Regions from separate parts of the Homo sapiens genome. Here regions 2, 3, 4 and 5 are each linked to region 1. Evidence: promoter capture Hi-C in 16 types of primary human blood cells and fetal thymus (Javierre and others, 2016). All regions are on one chromosome and are shown on one strand. The core of a region is centred on a gene start or on the middle of the fragment in contact, and the rest is flanking DNA. Distances in the headings are between cores, read along the strand shown. Region 1 holds the start of SRSF11 (serine and arginine rich splicing factor 11). Region 2 overlaps CRYZ (crystallin zeta). Region 3 overlaps DNAJC6 (DnaJ heat shock protein family (Hsp40) member C6). Region 4 overlaps MIER1 (MIER1 transcriptional regulator). Region 5 overlaps TYW3 (tRNA-yW synthesizing protein 3 homolog).

Region 1 (2,700 bases), core at 72-2,571:
GTGTGTCCAGCACATTCATTGGGACTGACTGTGTGACAGACATTGTGCCAGGTTCTGGACTGACCCAGGAAGCTCACAACTTTGAGTGATACATGTCAATAATAAATACATGTATCTTCTGTTACTTAGCAGAAAAGAGGAAGCCCTAACAGCTTGCAGAAGTCATAGCAGTGAGGGAAGGAATGCTCTACAGAAGATGACAGATAAGATGAGTGATGTTATTAATAACTTGTGTATCGGCACAGAGACATTATGGTTTTTGTCATGTTTGGGGCACTACAAGTCACTGGACTACACACTGGATGCAGTTGAGAGAATAGTTCAGATGAGGTTGAAAACAAAAGCAAGGATTTTTTTAATAGTCAAAAGCTTCAAAATTATTTTAAGCAAGAATATGTATGTGAAACAAGTTTTTCTTGAGAAATTGCAGTATTTTCTTTAGAAATATATACTTGAATATATTTAAGTACTATAAACTGTGTTTCCAAAGTCAGCTATTGTGGAATTGGCTGGGTGCAGTGGCTCACGCGCCTGTAATCCCAGAACTTTGGGAGGCCAAGGCGGGTGGATCACCAGAGGTCAGGAGTTGGAGACCAGCCTGGCCAACATGGTGAAACCCCATGTCTACTAAAAATACAAAACTTAGCCTGGCGTCGTGGCAGGCGCCTGTAATCCCAGCTACTCCCGAGGCCTAGGTAGGAGAATGGCTTGAACAGGGGAAGTGGAGGTTGCAGCGAGCCAAGATGGTGCCACTGCACTCCAGCCTGGGCGACAGGGCGACTCTGTCTCAAAAAAAAAAGTCATCCATTGTGAATGAATGTACAAAACGCTTATTAATAAGTGTAATATTAAAATATATCTTTTCTGAAAGTTTTAGTGACAAAACAAATTAGTTACAGATTTAATGTTACCAAAATTCATGTACATTGAAAATTTCGGGACATTTTATACTGGTGGTGGTGGGGTGGCATCTTAGCTTGGGTTTAAATATCATTAGTAATCGGATAGCTCTGTAGATGATTATCAGTATATAAAGACATCGTGAGCAGTATTTAATAAGAAGAGTTGCTGAAGTGACTTTTGCAGGAGGATGAATGCTTTTTTTAAAAAAAAAGTTTATACGTGCCTCTTCGCTCTTCCAAAAAAAAAAGAGAGAAGAAAAAGAAGAATAAAACGAGAGACGAAGGTGGATAACACCTTTCTCTAGACCCCGGTGCCTCTCATTTCTCGGGCTGCAGGCGACGGCTGCTGGGCCTGCGCGGGGTGGAGCCGACGCTGACGCGCCCTGCGCCGCAAAGCATTGTGGGAGCTCGGGCCCGCTAGTGTCGTGGTTGGAGGCGAGGTGGGGCGGCCGTTTGTTTTCTCGTGGTCTCGAGCTCGCGCGCTCTCATCCCCTCCCCCGCGGCGTGCGGCGGGGCGGAGAAACGGCGGCGGCGGCGGCGGCATCGGCAGCAGTAGCAGAGGCTGTAGCATCGGACACCCTCCTCTCTCCCGCAATCCGGTTCCTCTTCCCCCTCCTTCTCACTGTTTGTTGTGTGTTTGATGTGTTAAAGCAGGAGCGAGAACCCGAGCAGCGCCATGAGCAACACTACCGTCGTCCCCAGCACTGCAGGTCCGGGCCCCAGCGGCGGGCCCGGTGGCGGAGGTGGTGGTGGCGGCGGAGGCGGCGGCACCGAGGTAATCCAGGTGACTAATGTCTCCCCGAGCGCTAGCTCTGAGCAGATGCGGACTCTCTTCGGTTTCCTAGGCAAGATCGACGAACTGCGCCTCTTCCCGCCGGAGTGAGTATCGTCCACCATCACTGTTCCTGCTAACGCCGCCTCAGCCTGGGCCTAACACACACAATTTCCTTAGGCCCCTGTCGCTGCTTCCCCGGGCCAGGCTGCTTGAGTGGCTGGTGGCTGGTGGATTTACTTAAGACGGTTGTGTTCCAGGCCTACAAAAAAATGCAGAGAGGCAGGGCCAGGGCTTTTTGGAATTAGGAAACACTGGCTGTTATTCTCGGGAAATTTTTTTTTTCCGCCTTAAATTGTGCCAACGTGGTCGTTTGGCTTTGGGGACTTAACGCAAGACTAACCGCAGTCTGTACGTCGTATATAGGTTAAATCCCTTTTTTAAAAAACTGAGTATTTGTTCTTTGCGTTCTTGGAAGAAAGGTAACAAAATTATTCATGCCTGTGTTAATTTGGTGTTAAACTTTGTAGGTTGTTCACTTATTGTTATTGCTGTTATGTGGTTCTGGCCCAGCAATATAATTCAAAGATCATATTCTTTTTGACAGACGCTTAGTTTAGTGTGAGCCTGATTACTTAATTTGTATAATGTCAAAAAACGGGTTATAAACCAGAGATTTTCCTTTGTTTGAATAATATACAGATTTGTGATATTTCACAGTTGTTCTTGAGAAGGATTTTTATAAATGTTGAAATTTGAATTAGAGTGTATGACTTTTTATCCTTTTTGTCTCACTTTTATTTTGAAAATTATTTCTATCGCAAGAATATTAAGTGGATGAATTGTAAAGAAAAAATAGTTCAAAGAAGCTAAGAAGTAAGATAAAGTGTACTACTAAAACAGACAATTGGAATAATAATAATAGTCTTGTGCTTTTTGGAAGACTTATTGGTGGAGAAGTGACAATTCAAATGTCATTATCAGTAAATATCATATATTGAGAATTTTATGATGTCACTTAAATAC
Region 2 (2,700 bases), core at 117-2,616, 4.5 Mb after region 1:
TAAACACACAACATAATCCCAAAGGAATTCGAATTAAATGAGGACAGAAAGTACAAACAGAAGCAAGGCAAAACCCAGTACTGTTTCCCTCTGATAGGACAGGGAGGATCAGAAGCACTTCACACACCAGGTCACCAGCCTATCCCTGCCAGCTGAGGATTTAACAAACTCAGCCAGCTCAGAGAACAGTGTGGATTTTACCTTAAAAAAAAATCATGGTGAAGCAACTGGGCTTTTTACAAGAGGGTAAAGGGAATATAAAGAGATTTTCTTTAAACTCTTCTCTCCCCTTCCTACTGAAATCTTTCCCTTCTGCACAGAGCACTAAGTTAGCTCTCTGAAAGCCAGGGTAATTTAAATAAATGTATGTGTTTGACAGACCCTTTAGTTACTTAGGGTTAAATTTAATTTAACCCAAAAATAGCCTCTTCAGTGAAGTTAAACAGTGGGAGTTTTGGACAAGGTATATCTGTCATATTGTCTCAAGCCCCATAAAGACAATCCTAGTGTTTTTTCATAAATTGTTTGATCTGTGAAATCCTTTAGAATTGATCTATTTGAAGTGTAGGAAGCTAGGTGTGAAACCTCGTGATTCATCTACCTAAAGAAACAGAGAGACAAAAAGGACTGAAATTACCTGGGCACTTTTAAAGGTAAATTCACATTTTCAGGATACCACTCATTATTCAGGGGACTATGTGCCATTTAATAGGTTACTTCTTTCAATCCACTCTCCAGAATACACAGTGCTCTGAAATGGTTAACAGCCTCCTCAAAGTAAGCATCTAGCCCCAGGCCTTTTATTTTTAAAATGCAAAATCTTATCTCCAAAATTTCCAAAGCATCCAGTGACAGAGTTCATGTGGATTTCTTGTTAAATTCTAACTGCAGAGCTCTAACTTTTCCCTCTAAGCTCCTGAGAGGCAGATTGGCAGCTAGTTTCTCGAAGAGGTTTCTGACAGCCCTGCATTGGGTGATTTCATTGAAGGGCTTATTTTAAGTTCTGAGTCCTCCTCCCCCATTCCCCCACATTAGCATTTTCAGCCATGGGTTGTGGTGTTAAGGACAGGGCTGTATACGTGCACTCCATGGATGTCATCAAAGTGCAGCAGGCAAGCAGCAGAAGGGAGATAGAAGGACTAAGAATTCACAGTGTGGCTTTACCGTGCTGTCTGGGGCAACATAGGTAAGCTTTAATGAGCCTTAGTTTCCTTATCTAAGGGAATATGGAATTAATATCAACCTTAAAGAACTGTTTAAAATTCTAAATAAATATTTTTATAACATATGCTACTTGAAGGCAAAAACAAGGCCAGTTTATCTTAGTCTACACCCAATACAGGTGGAAAATCTAACATATTTTTGAAGGGGTGCTCTGTTGAGTTTATTAACCAAGAAATGCTAAACTAATGACAAAACATCACCTTCAGAAGACCAAAATCAAAAGTTTTACTACATAAAGAAAAAAAGCACCTTTGACTCTATTTATAAATCTGACTTTTAAAAATGACCAAAGGAACTATAATGTGAAACCCATAAACCCAAGCTTGTTTCAAAATACATTAAAAAAAATACTTACTCCTCCACTTGCCCCATGAACCAGAACACTCTCTCCAGCTTTCACACAGGCACTGCAAAGGAAAGCATAAGTTACATCACCTTATTTTTTGAAGCTAATTAATCTCGGGTGTTTTCATCATCTTAAGGAATTTCTACCCCTAGTCTGGCTAACACTTACACAAACAGCAAATGCAACCTGACATACAGCCCCAAATATTCCCTAAGCTCCACAGAATAAACAAAGCCTTCAATTCATTTATTCCTTGAACAAATATTTATTGGGAGTCTTTATGTTCCAGGCACTATGCTGCTGGACACTGGGATGACTATGTGGTGCTACTTCTGAGTGGCTACAGTCCTTGTGGGTTGTGAAGTAAAATTGCTGAGCCTGGAGGATCTGGAATCTCTCATTCCCATATATCCCCCACAGAAAGGGCCTCAAAGCAGGTTTATTATATAGCTCAGTCTTTATTCTGTGGTCTAGAGTAATGTCCAAGTAAACACAGTAGCTATTTTTTTTGCCCAAGGAAAGAAAGAAATTTTTCTTCTCCATGTCTCTGAACATCAGGTTGCACCAGCCTTGTACTCTTTCAGGGAGGAATGCTGAGTTAGCAAAGGTCAGAGAGTAGGAAATGCAATAAATTCTATCACAAAGATTCCCATGTCATCCCCCTGAAATGTCCAGATTCTCTGGTGAAATGGCATTTTCTTTTTACTTCCAGTTCACATGACTACTTTTCTAGTATGTACTGAAAAGAAGGGACATGCAGCAAGGCATGAGGGGATGCCTCACTATTCCAGATGGACGGTGCCAATGTCAAAAGCCAGCAGATGCTGTGAGATCCAGATCTGACTCTCAGGAAGGCTCTCTTACTTCCTCAAACAATGTGGGGTGGCCACACTGCAGAGACATTATAGAACATTATGCTCCACCTGGGAAAGAGAACAGTAACCAGAGTCCTGCTCCCAGCTATGCACCAACAGCTGAGAAGTGGCAACAATGAGCAATAAGTGAAGCTTTCTCCCACACTCTTGCTTAGAGCTGAAGGGACTGAGGACAATATGTTAAAGTAAAACATAAACATAAGGGGATAGGATGACTAGTGTTAAACTATGGGATATGAAATACCTCCCAAAGAA
Region 3 (2,700 bases), core at 52-2,551, 4.8 Mb before region 1:
AAAAGAAAAAGTAAATTGTGTCCTGGCTTACAATAGTAAGGACAGGCTAAGAGCTGGACAGAAGAAAACTCCTTTCCTTTAGAGATACAGCAGTATAGTTAGCTAGGATGGTAATGAAAAAGCTTCAGAATGTAGTTGGTAAAATTTGTGAGAATCAATAAAATATTCAGAATGGAATTAAATTTGCCCTCTCTTGATTATTACTACATTGATTATGTCAGTTTATGTTTTCATTGAAGTATATATACATCTAAGGGCTCTACCTTGTCAGAAACTTCAAGTAACTCATGGACAAATGAAATCATCATATAATACATAGAAACATTCAGCAAGAAGTGAGTCATCTTGCTGTCACATAGACTATACCAGTCATATGACATGAAGCTATGATCGAAGTGCCACTTGGGAACACAGGCTTGAATTTGATGCATATGATTTTCATCTCTCCACATTTTTTTGTACTAGTCTGAAAAGAAGAATTAATGAGAAGCAATGGTAGTGCTTGAATTTTGATGAATCAAAAGAGAAGGAGAAACAAGAGCCCAGAAAAATCCACAAACTGTATTCCCCATTATGACTCTCAAAGAACTTTTTAGAAATGGGAAAATGGGAGTTAAAAACAGTCAATAGAGATGGGCTGTCATGAACCTTTGTCATTTGGCAGATACGTCTGGAGAACAGAGATACGTCTTGTGCTGCCTGATAAGCTCTCTGTTGTCTACTTCTTGATGGATTACTACTACCCTTGTGCATTTCTAGGGGGAGGTCATTATGGGGAGGTTATAGTAATTTGGGTCAGATATAGTAGATTAGGCTGAAAAGGAGAAATGGCCAAATAGAAAAACATTTCCATTGCTTAGAGCCCATATATTGGCAGTGAAAAATTTAATATTAATGAAATTTTGGTCTGTGGTATCTAATGTGTGTTTTTGTTTTCTCTACAGGCTACTGGGCAACCCTATGAACAATACGCAAAGATGATTTTCATGGAGCTCAATGATGCCTGGTCTGAATTTGAAAACCAAGGCCAAAAGCCCTTATATTAATTTATGAGCTTTTCCATCTCTGCTGCAGACCTGTGCTAATGCTTAGTGTGTGTCACAATTCTGAGGTTTTCGCAGATGAACCAAAAACTCCAGTAACATGTTTTCAGTACTAAACCGTTAAGTTACTCATGAATTAATTTCTCATTGATAAGGAATGTGGATGTTTGGTTTCTCCAAAGTTCCCACCATAAAAGATCCAAAGCATGAGAGGAACTTCTAGTCAGATGACCTTGCAGAACCACCGCATTCCACCCTGCCCTTTGGGGAGCCTACTCAGCATTCTACCTGGGGAAATGGAAAACAGAGGCCACCACCCATGAAGGCATAACACCCATCACATTGTCTGAGAATAGGATTAATGAGCAAAAGTTATGATAATAGAGTTATATGATGGTTTAATGGTTTCTAGATTTTTCTTGGAAAGATATAATTTGAGCAGTGGCTTTATGCAGACTCCAAGAACAAAACCACCAGGTATTTTTTTTTAAGTAAAAATTTACTAAGGCCTTTAGCATAATACTGTAAATGTCTTTTGGTCAAGAGAACTAACAAATATAAAGGAACTTGAAATGTGGGGAGTGATAATAGTCCAGTGATTAAACTACAGTCCAGTGATTACCACCAACTTTCTGACTAAGCTAAAAATGAATGAAAATGGTGGCTAAAGAAAATAGGGACTCTGAAGATGTCGAAATCTTTATTCCTGGTTAGGAAGGTGGGCCGCTACCCTTCTTTCCCTTTAGAAAACTGTGATTAATTAAATAAAAAGTCTTACTACTATAACAACTCTAAACCTGGTTTAAATGAAACATCTAATTTTGCTGTAAGGCTTAATGCTCTTCTTTTGTTTAGCCAAGAAAACATTCTTAGTTGGAAACAGGTGGTAAAGTAGTTTGGCCTGTTCACAACTTATCAGGACCAATATCTAGTGTGGACTCAGTGTTCTCTAGGTTTGTGAGCAGTTGTGGTAAGAGAATGGAAGGCAACACTGAATAGGAGTTAAGGGAATGGCACGATCACAGTGAGAGAGCTGCACTCACCTGCAGACCCAGTCAGATGGCTTGTCAGTATCTGCTCTGAGGAACCAGGTCCCACCTCCCCACAAGGCAAATCTAGACCCATTAAATTATTACAGTGGGCTTTTTTGTTTTAAAAGTGGTTGGGGATCCACAGGAACGACATTCATACAGGGACATTTGTGAAAGCAAAGCAAGAATGAATGCTTTCCCGATCTCAGACTGGCTGGATTCAGATCAGTGTGTTGGCTGGTTCTCATTTTAAGGGGTAAGCAGTTTGCTATTCTGTGACTTTAGTAGATCTCTTTTGTGTGCACATATACAATGTGCATTATACATATATATTAAATATATCCACAAAGCAGATGGGCAAAAAGATTTTCATGCTAATCTTCAAAGGTTCATGCTCAATATTGTGAAAAGCTTTTAAAAGTTGTTTTGAAAAGACAATCATTTTTTGTTTTTGTTTTAACTTTCTTGTGGCAAGCTATACCGGAAAAGCGGCATGTCAAAAATACTTTAGGTTCTACATAGATCTCTTTCTCTCTTTTGTTTTGTTTGTTTGTTTGTTAAAGTTCATTATTTATTTTACCTTTTACTGACAATGTGAAACTCGAAGAAAATGTTCTCTTTTTAAA
Region 4 (2,746 bases), core at 79-2,578, 3.3 Mb before region 1:
TCAATAACTTTTGAATGGAAGATTCAGTAAATTGCTTACAAATGATTTATCAATATAATAGCAGTTTTGAGTAGCTTAATGTCATAAAAATTAATGTTACTTTGCCTGAAAATAAGGAGGCTTTTAGGTGGGGAATAGGAGCTGAAGAGGCATTTATTCAGGCTTTGTATAGTGGTTTTTTGTTTTGGGACATTAATCACAAACCTCACATAAAATTGGAATTCAGCACACTTTTTTAGTTTAAAAATTTTATACACAATTCCAACAGAACTACTGTTTTGGATATCACATTAATAAATAACAAAGTGTAATAATTTTAAGCAGACACAATTAATGGTGCATTTTCTTATGCCTTTAGCTCTCTCATGTCCTATTTTCAACTCTTCTAGTATGAATAGGCTTTAAAAATAAATTTTTTTTTGTTAACCCAAGTATAAATATTAACTGTTTGCATTTGGATACAAAGAAGATATCTGTTGAATTAATCCAAAGTGCTGAAGAACTAAGGGTAATGGATGGAAACAACAAGGAGGTAGATTCTGGCATAATAAAAGAAAGAATGTTTTAAACATTTGAACTTTTTTTGAAAAGAGCAGCCTTTTTATGAGATATAGTGAGTCACTGGAGGGGTTTAAACATAGGCAGAAAGCCTGGTAGTAGAAGCATGATGAGAGATTACTATCTTGACAGGGTAGAGAATTGACTAAAAGATCTCTAAGGTCCCATCCAACACTAAAATTCTATAACTAGTGAATAGTTAATTTTTATATATTTAATACTGAAGAGGGTAAGTAAGCGTTTTGAGAAAGACTTTTCATTCCGTAAGGTGGCTCCTGAAAATTTTACAGTTAGGTGTATCACTAAAATAAAATAATAGTGGAAGGATACTGAATTCAGTGGTAATGTGTTACCTATGAATTGCAGTATTAGAGCTGTTTCTTTTTTATAATATCTGAACCTAAAAAACCCACTGAATCCACATTTATAAAAAGGGGAAGGGGAAAAATGTAGAGAGTTTTTTTCCCTCAATAATAATAATACCATTTAAAACTAGTAATATTGATACACAATATTAATAAACTTAAAGAGTTATTTAACAGTAAGATAGATACCCATTCAGAAATGTTTCAGACTTCCATTTTCCTGACAAGTTTAGGATTCATTCAGTAGGTTAATAGACTATGATCCCCTGCTCTTTATCATAGTTGGGATTTCTGTTGGTAGTTTAACTGAAGAATCAAAGATTCAGTGTACTTAAGCAAGTTATTTCTGTACCTTGTATTGTAACACTTTTAATTTTCCTTTGGTAGCCAAATTTCATAAATTAGCTTTCATATGTTAATGGAAAACCCTCCTTCATCTCCATGGTATAAAGCCTGAGTTTGTACCTCTAGGCCCCTAATTGTGTCTGTACCCACCTCAGGTCCATGTATATCCATTGTTCTTTGCCTTCAGCTCTTTTCATTAAGTGTATTGATTGAAAACTATTTGGATATGAACTGACACTTTTAAAAAGTCATTTTTATTTCAAGTCCAGAGGATTGACATAATTCAACAGGGTAACTATTAGAAACTATATACCTCTGCTAAAATATTTATTCCCCCAAGGAATCCTGAAAAACACTTTTATATAAGTTTTCTAAAAAATAAAATGAAAATACTGTACAGTACAGTTAATGGTAAAAATTGTTTGTAGATTTGGGAACCTTAAAGTTTTCCTTTCTCTTCTTTCCCTTGCTTTTCTTTCAGTAGAAAATGTGCATCAGATGTTTATGTTTAATTGGTTTACAGACTGTCTGTGGACTCTTTTCCTGTCAAATTACCAGGTAATGTCCTTTCACTTAGCAGCTACTTCATATATCTGTAAATGCAGTTTATTCATGCACAGATTATTATTGGACATAACAGTTTCAAATTAACATTGAATCTTTGGAAATAGGAAAATGCTTGATAGAGTCTAGAATTTTAAGGGAATATAAATAATTTAATAGCCTCCCCTATATTGCATTATAAGTTAAGTATTAACTTTAAGAAAAATTGTATATGTACACATTTATGCAATGTAGTATTGGTTCACATTATTTGGAAGGAATGAATAATTCTCGTATTTAAATGGTTGATTTTGGTAGCCACTTTTGAAACTGCATTAAGAGGAACCCTTGAAGATTAGGAAAAAAATCCCAGTCTTTTGAAATAAAGACTTTCAAACTGGTTTAGTAAAATATGTTAGTGACTGTTTTAATGTCACCTTTGTGTTATTCAGTATGTGCCTTAGTATAATGGAAGTGAAACATGTTAGTTACTTTGAAATCATTGGTTCTGGCCATCATCAGCATTGGCATCACGGCCAATTGGCAGCTGTAGGCCAATACATTAAAATAAACTTTCAAGTTACAGGCATTTCAGGCATTGCAAATAAGTAGGTTCTCCCTCCATGCTACTAAATAGATGATATCCATAAAACAGTCAATTTTCAGTATTTTAAATTTTGTCTAGTTGTGCAAAATTCAGTACATAACTGTGTTGCTACCGGCATGACAGAAGTGTGTGAGAAAACGCAAATGACATGAGGATGGCGGACTGCCTATCATAACCCCTTCCATTAATTTTTGCTCTGACCTCTCTAGAGATTTGGGGATATAGAATTTTACATTTCCTGTCGGGAATCTACTGATGGAGAAATATTTGTCAAGGCATAACCGCTTTCAAAGCACAGTTCTTGCCGCCGTTGCATCACAGCAACATC
Region 5 (2,700 bases), core at 12-2,511, 4.5 Mb after region 1:
CAGGATACACTGTAACATGGGTGCAGCCAAGGTTAAAAGGCAGGCAAGTGCTACCTAGGGAAGAGACTAGTACCTGACTCAAGGTCACTAACAAAAAACACGCATACTAGGCTCAAGTGTTGTAACATTTGCTTATAGCAGGAGGGAAGAGACTACACAAGATCTAGCCCTTTGCAATGTGTCAGTCCCCATGGCTAGCAGATTGGTTCCACAGCTGATCAGGGCAGAGTGATGGCATGTACCCCACTTTGTGCTGCAGTAGCTCCCAGACCCTGAACACTGCCCCATAGGGTCTGAAATACAGAAAGCTAGGAACGTGCTCAGGGGCCATTGGTTCTCATGTAGCTGAGCAGTTCCAAGGTTCCTCTCCCAAAGTTAGGAGATAGCAAAAACAAACAAGTGAACAGGGAAAAAAAAACAAACAAAAAAACTGCAAGTTGCAATTGTTACAACAACTGTGCCTGTTACAGAGGGAACAGGAACTCACTGGCTGTGCTCTGAGCTCTTTGCATGCACTGCTATTTGTGAGCTTACTAGTGCTGCTGGTAAGCACTGGTGCTTGGTACAGGATGCTTCTTGGGAACATGGGTGGCAGTTAGGCTTTGTTTGGACCCTTCTCTCACATTACATTTGTCTCTATCTCAATCTAACAAAAAATTTAAACAATCCTAATACAGTTTTTGTATACTACATTTCCTAATGAAAAATCCGTTATGGAATTAAATAAAGTAGTAGTTTACTTCTTCAAAGCACACTAATAGGTGGAAAGAATGGTATAGAAGATTTACGGGAGAACTAGAAATTTTAAGAAAATAAGCAAATAAATTTTTGGTGAAAAAGGACCAAGAAAGCAGAGGGAAAAGTTACTGCAGAAAAAATATGCTGAGTGATTCTGAAAATTTCTAAGAGAAATTGAAGTTATGTATGGGGTAAAGGGTCGCCAAAGGACAGGCCATATACTTGCATCTGATACCACTGTTCATTTATTTAGATTGTAGCTCTGAAGAAAGCAAATGGTGATGCCACTTTGAAATTTGAACCATTTGTTCTTCATGTGCAGTGTCGACAATTGCAGGATGCACAGATTCTGGTAAAATTTTGTTGTAATTGTACTTGAATTTATAGATATGTGGGTAGATGTAATTTTAAGCTTTTAACCTGCTATAAATATCAATGAGATATTACCTTATTCAACTAGTTATGTATATATTATTTATTGGTCTGCTCAATCTATTAATTTTTAATATTAGAAAAAAAGAGTAGCTAATCATTGCTAGGAAAATATAAGTCCCAGGTTATGCTTCCTGTTTTCTTTCTTAACGTTTTTATTTATAAATTTTACTTCAGCATTCTATAGTTTGTTTTTGTTTGCCAAGCTTTAAGAAAAAATACTGTGGAACTACATGTAAAATTAAGAGTTTTAAAGAATATTTCATTTTTCCCATTTAAATGAGCATGCATGAGGTAAACATCTGTTTAGTCTTGATTCTCCTTTTTATACCTTTTATATATTTATATATAAAACTGAATTGCATTTTAAGCAACAATAATGTATTGAGTCTCAGTGTGTCAAGTACTAGGGGCACAGTGATGAACAAGATTAAAGACTGTCTTGGTTCCTCTTCCAAAGTTAGGAGACAGCAAAAACAAACAAGTGAACTGGCAAAAAAACAAAAAACAAACTGCAAGTTGCAAAATGTTCTACCGAAGGAAAAAACAACCTGGTAATAGAGAACAGTGCAAAAAGCAGCTCACTTGAAGATAGGCTTCTCTGAAAAGCTTTCTTTAAGCTAAGACTTAAAGGAACAGAAAGAGCTAGGCATGTAGCTGGGAAATGAACATTCCATGAAGATGGAAAAGTATATACAAAGTTTCAGTGGGTCTAGAGAGTGGAAAGAAGGTGCCAGAAGGAGGCTGGGGCCAGGTCATTTAAGGCTTTGTAGACCAGATTAAAGAGTTTGAATTTCTTTCTGAGTTCAGGGAAAAGTTATTGAAGGGACAGTTTTAAGCAAAGAGTGGCTTTCTAGGTTTTTGTTCTGAAAAACTCAGTTCTGCTTCAGCATAGAGAAAGGAGTGCAGTAAGTGAAAAGATACGAGTTAGGAGTAGTTTGTGGTGATAGGTTGGTGTAAGGTGATAGCACCAAAGCAGGTGAGAAAGGAATAGATTCAATATGTATTTCAGCATTTGAATCAACAGAATTGTAAGGTTGTCTGGGGAAGGACAGCCAGAGGGAGGAGGAGAAAGAGGAATCAAGGATAACTACTTAGGTCTGGCTGGAGCCCCTAGCTGTATGGTAGTCGCCTTTATCCAGATGGGGTGTGCTGAAGTTGAAGTGTGTCCAGAATTGGTTCCTTCCAGTGGGTTATTGGTCTCGCTGACTTCAAGAATGAAGCCGTGGACCCTCGCAGTGAGTGTGACAGTTCTTAAAGATGGTATGTCCGGAGTTTGTTCCTTCAGATGTTCAGATGTGTCCGGAGTTTCTTCCTTCCAGTGGGTTCGTGGTCTTGCTGACTTCAGGAGTGAAGCTGCAGACCTTCGCAGTGAGTGTTACAGCTCTTAAAGGTGGCATGTCCAGAGTTGTTTGTTCCTCCCAGTGGGTTCGTGGTCTTGCTGATTTCAGAAATGAAGCCGCAGACTTCCACAGTGAGTGTTAACAGCTCATAATGGTAATGCAGACCCAAAGACTGAGCAGCAGCAAG

Evidence for each region. Contacts are between HindIII fragments. The CHiCAGO score rates a contact against its expected background, and 5 or more counts as called.
Region 2: a fragment that was not itself captured here is called in contact with the fragment with the promoter of SRSF11 in region 1 in 1 of 17 cell types (non-activated CD4 T cells); the score reaches 5.8 in non-activated CD4 T cells.
Region 3: a fragment that was not itself captured here is called in contact with the fragment with the promoter of SRSF11 in region 1 in 1 of 17 cell types (non-activated CD4 T cells); the score reaches 5.3 in non-activated CD4 T cells.
Region 4: a contact is called between a fragment that was not itself captured here and the fragment with the promoter of SRSF11 in region 1, in 4 of 17 cell types (total B cells, total CD4 T cells, monocytes and 1 more). The highest score is 13.0, in total B cells.
Region 5: a fragment that was not itself captured here is called in contact with the fragment with the promoter of SRSF11 in region 1 in 2 of 17 cell types (total B cells and total CD8 T cells); the score reaches 5.3 in total B cells.

The regions. Positions count from the first base shown.
Region 1 is chr1:70,220,059-70,222,758 of GRCh38, forward strand. SRSF11 (serine and arginine rich splicing factor 11) reads left to right here and starts at 1,322. Exons shown (of 12, transcript NM_001350605.2): 1 at 1,322-1,781. The coding sequence starts at 1,579. RefSeq lists an enhancer at 1,216-1,761 and a silencer at 1,657-1,706. The HindIII fragment of the contact is 2,724 bases long and covers 368-2,700 here.
Region 2 is chr1:74,713,000-74,715,699 of GRCh38, forward strand. It overlaps CRYZ (crystallin zeta), which reads right to left. Exons shown (of 9, transcript NM_001889.4): 5 at 1,580-1,631. Among named protein-coding and RNA genes, the nearest start is that of CRYZ, 19 kb to the right of the region's middle. The HindIII fragment of the contact is 355 bases long and covers 1,190-1,544 here.
Region 3 is chr1:65,411,980-65,414,679 of GRCh38, forward strand. It overlaps DNAJC6 (DnaJ heat shock protein family (Hsp40) member C6), which reads left to right. Exons shown (of 19, transcript NM_001256864.2): 19 at 945-2,700. The coding sequence ends at 1,046. Among named protein-coding and RNA genes, the nearest start is that of LEPR, 7.3 kb to the right of the region's middle. RefSeq lists an enhancer at 567-861. The HindIII fragment of the contact is 2,363 bases long and covers 121-2,483 here.
Region 4 is chr1:66,927,138-66,929,883 of GRCh38, forward strand. All of the region lies in intron 2 of MIER1 (MIER1 transcriptional regulator), which reads left to right. Among named protein-coding and RNA genes, the nearest start is that of MIER1, 3.5 kb to the left of the region's middle. The HindIII fragment of the contact is 5,334 bases long and covers 1-2,746 here.
Region 5 is chr1:74,737,699-74,740,398 of GRCh38, forward strand. It overlaps TYW3 (tRNA-yW synthesizing protein 3 homolog), which reads left to right. Exons shown (of 6, transcript NM_138467.3): 3 at 992-1,090. Among named protein-coding and RNA genes, the nearest start is that of TYW3, 5.9 kb to the left of the region's middle. The HindIII fragment of the contact is 226 bases long and covers 1,149-1,374 here.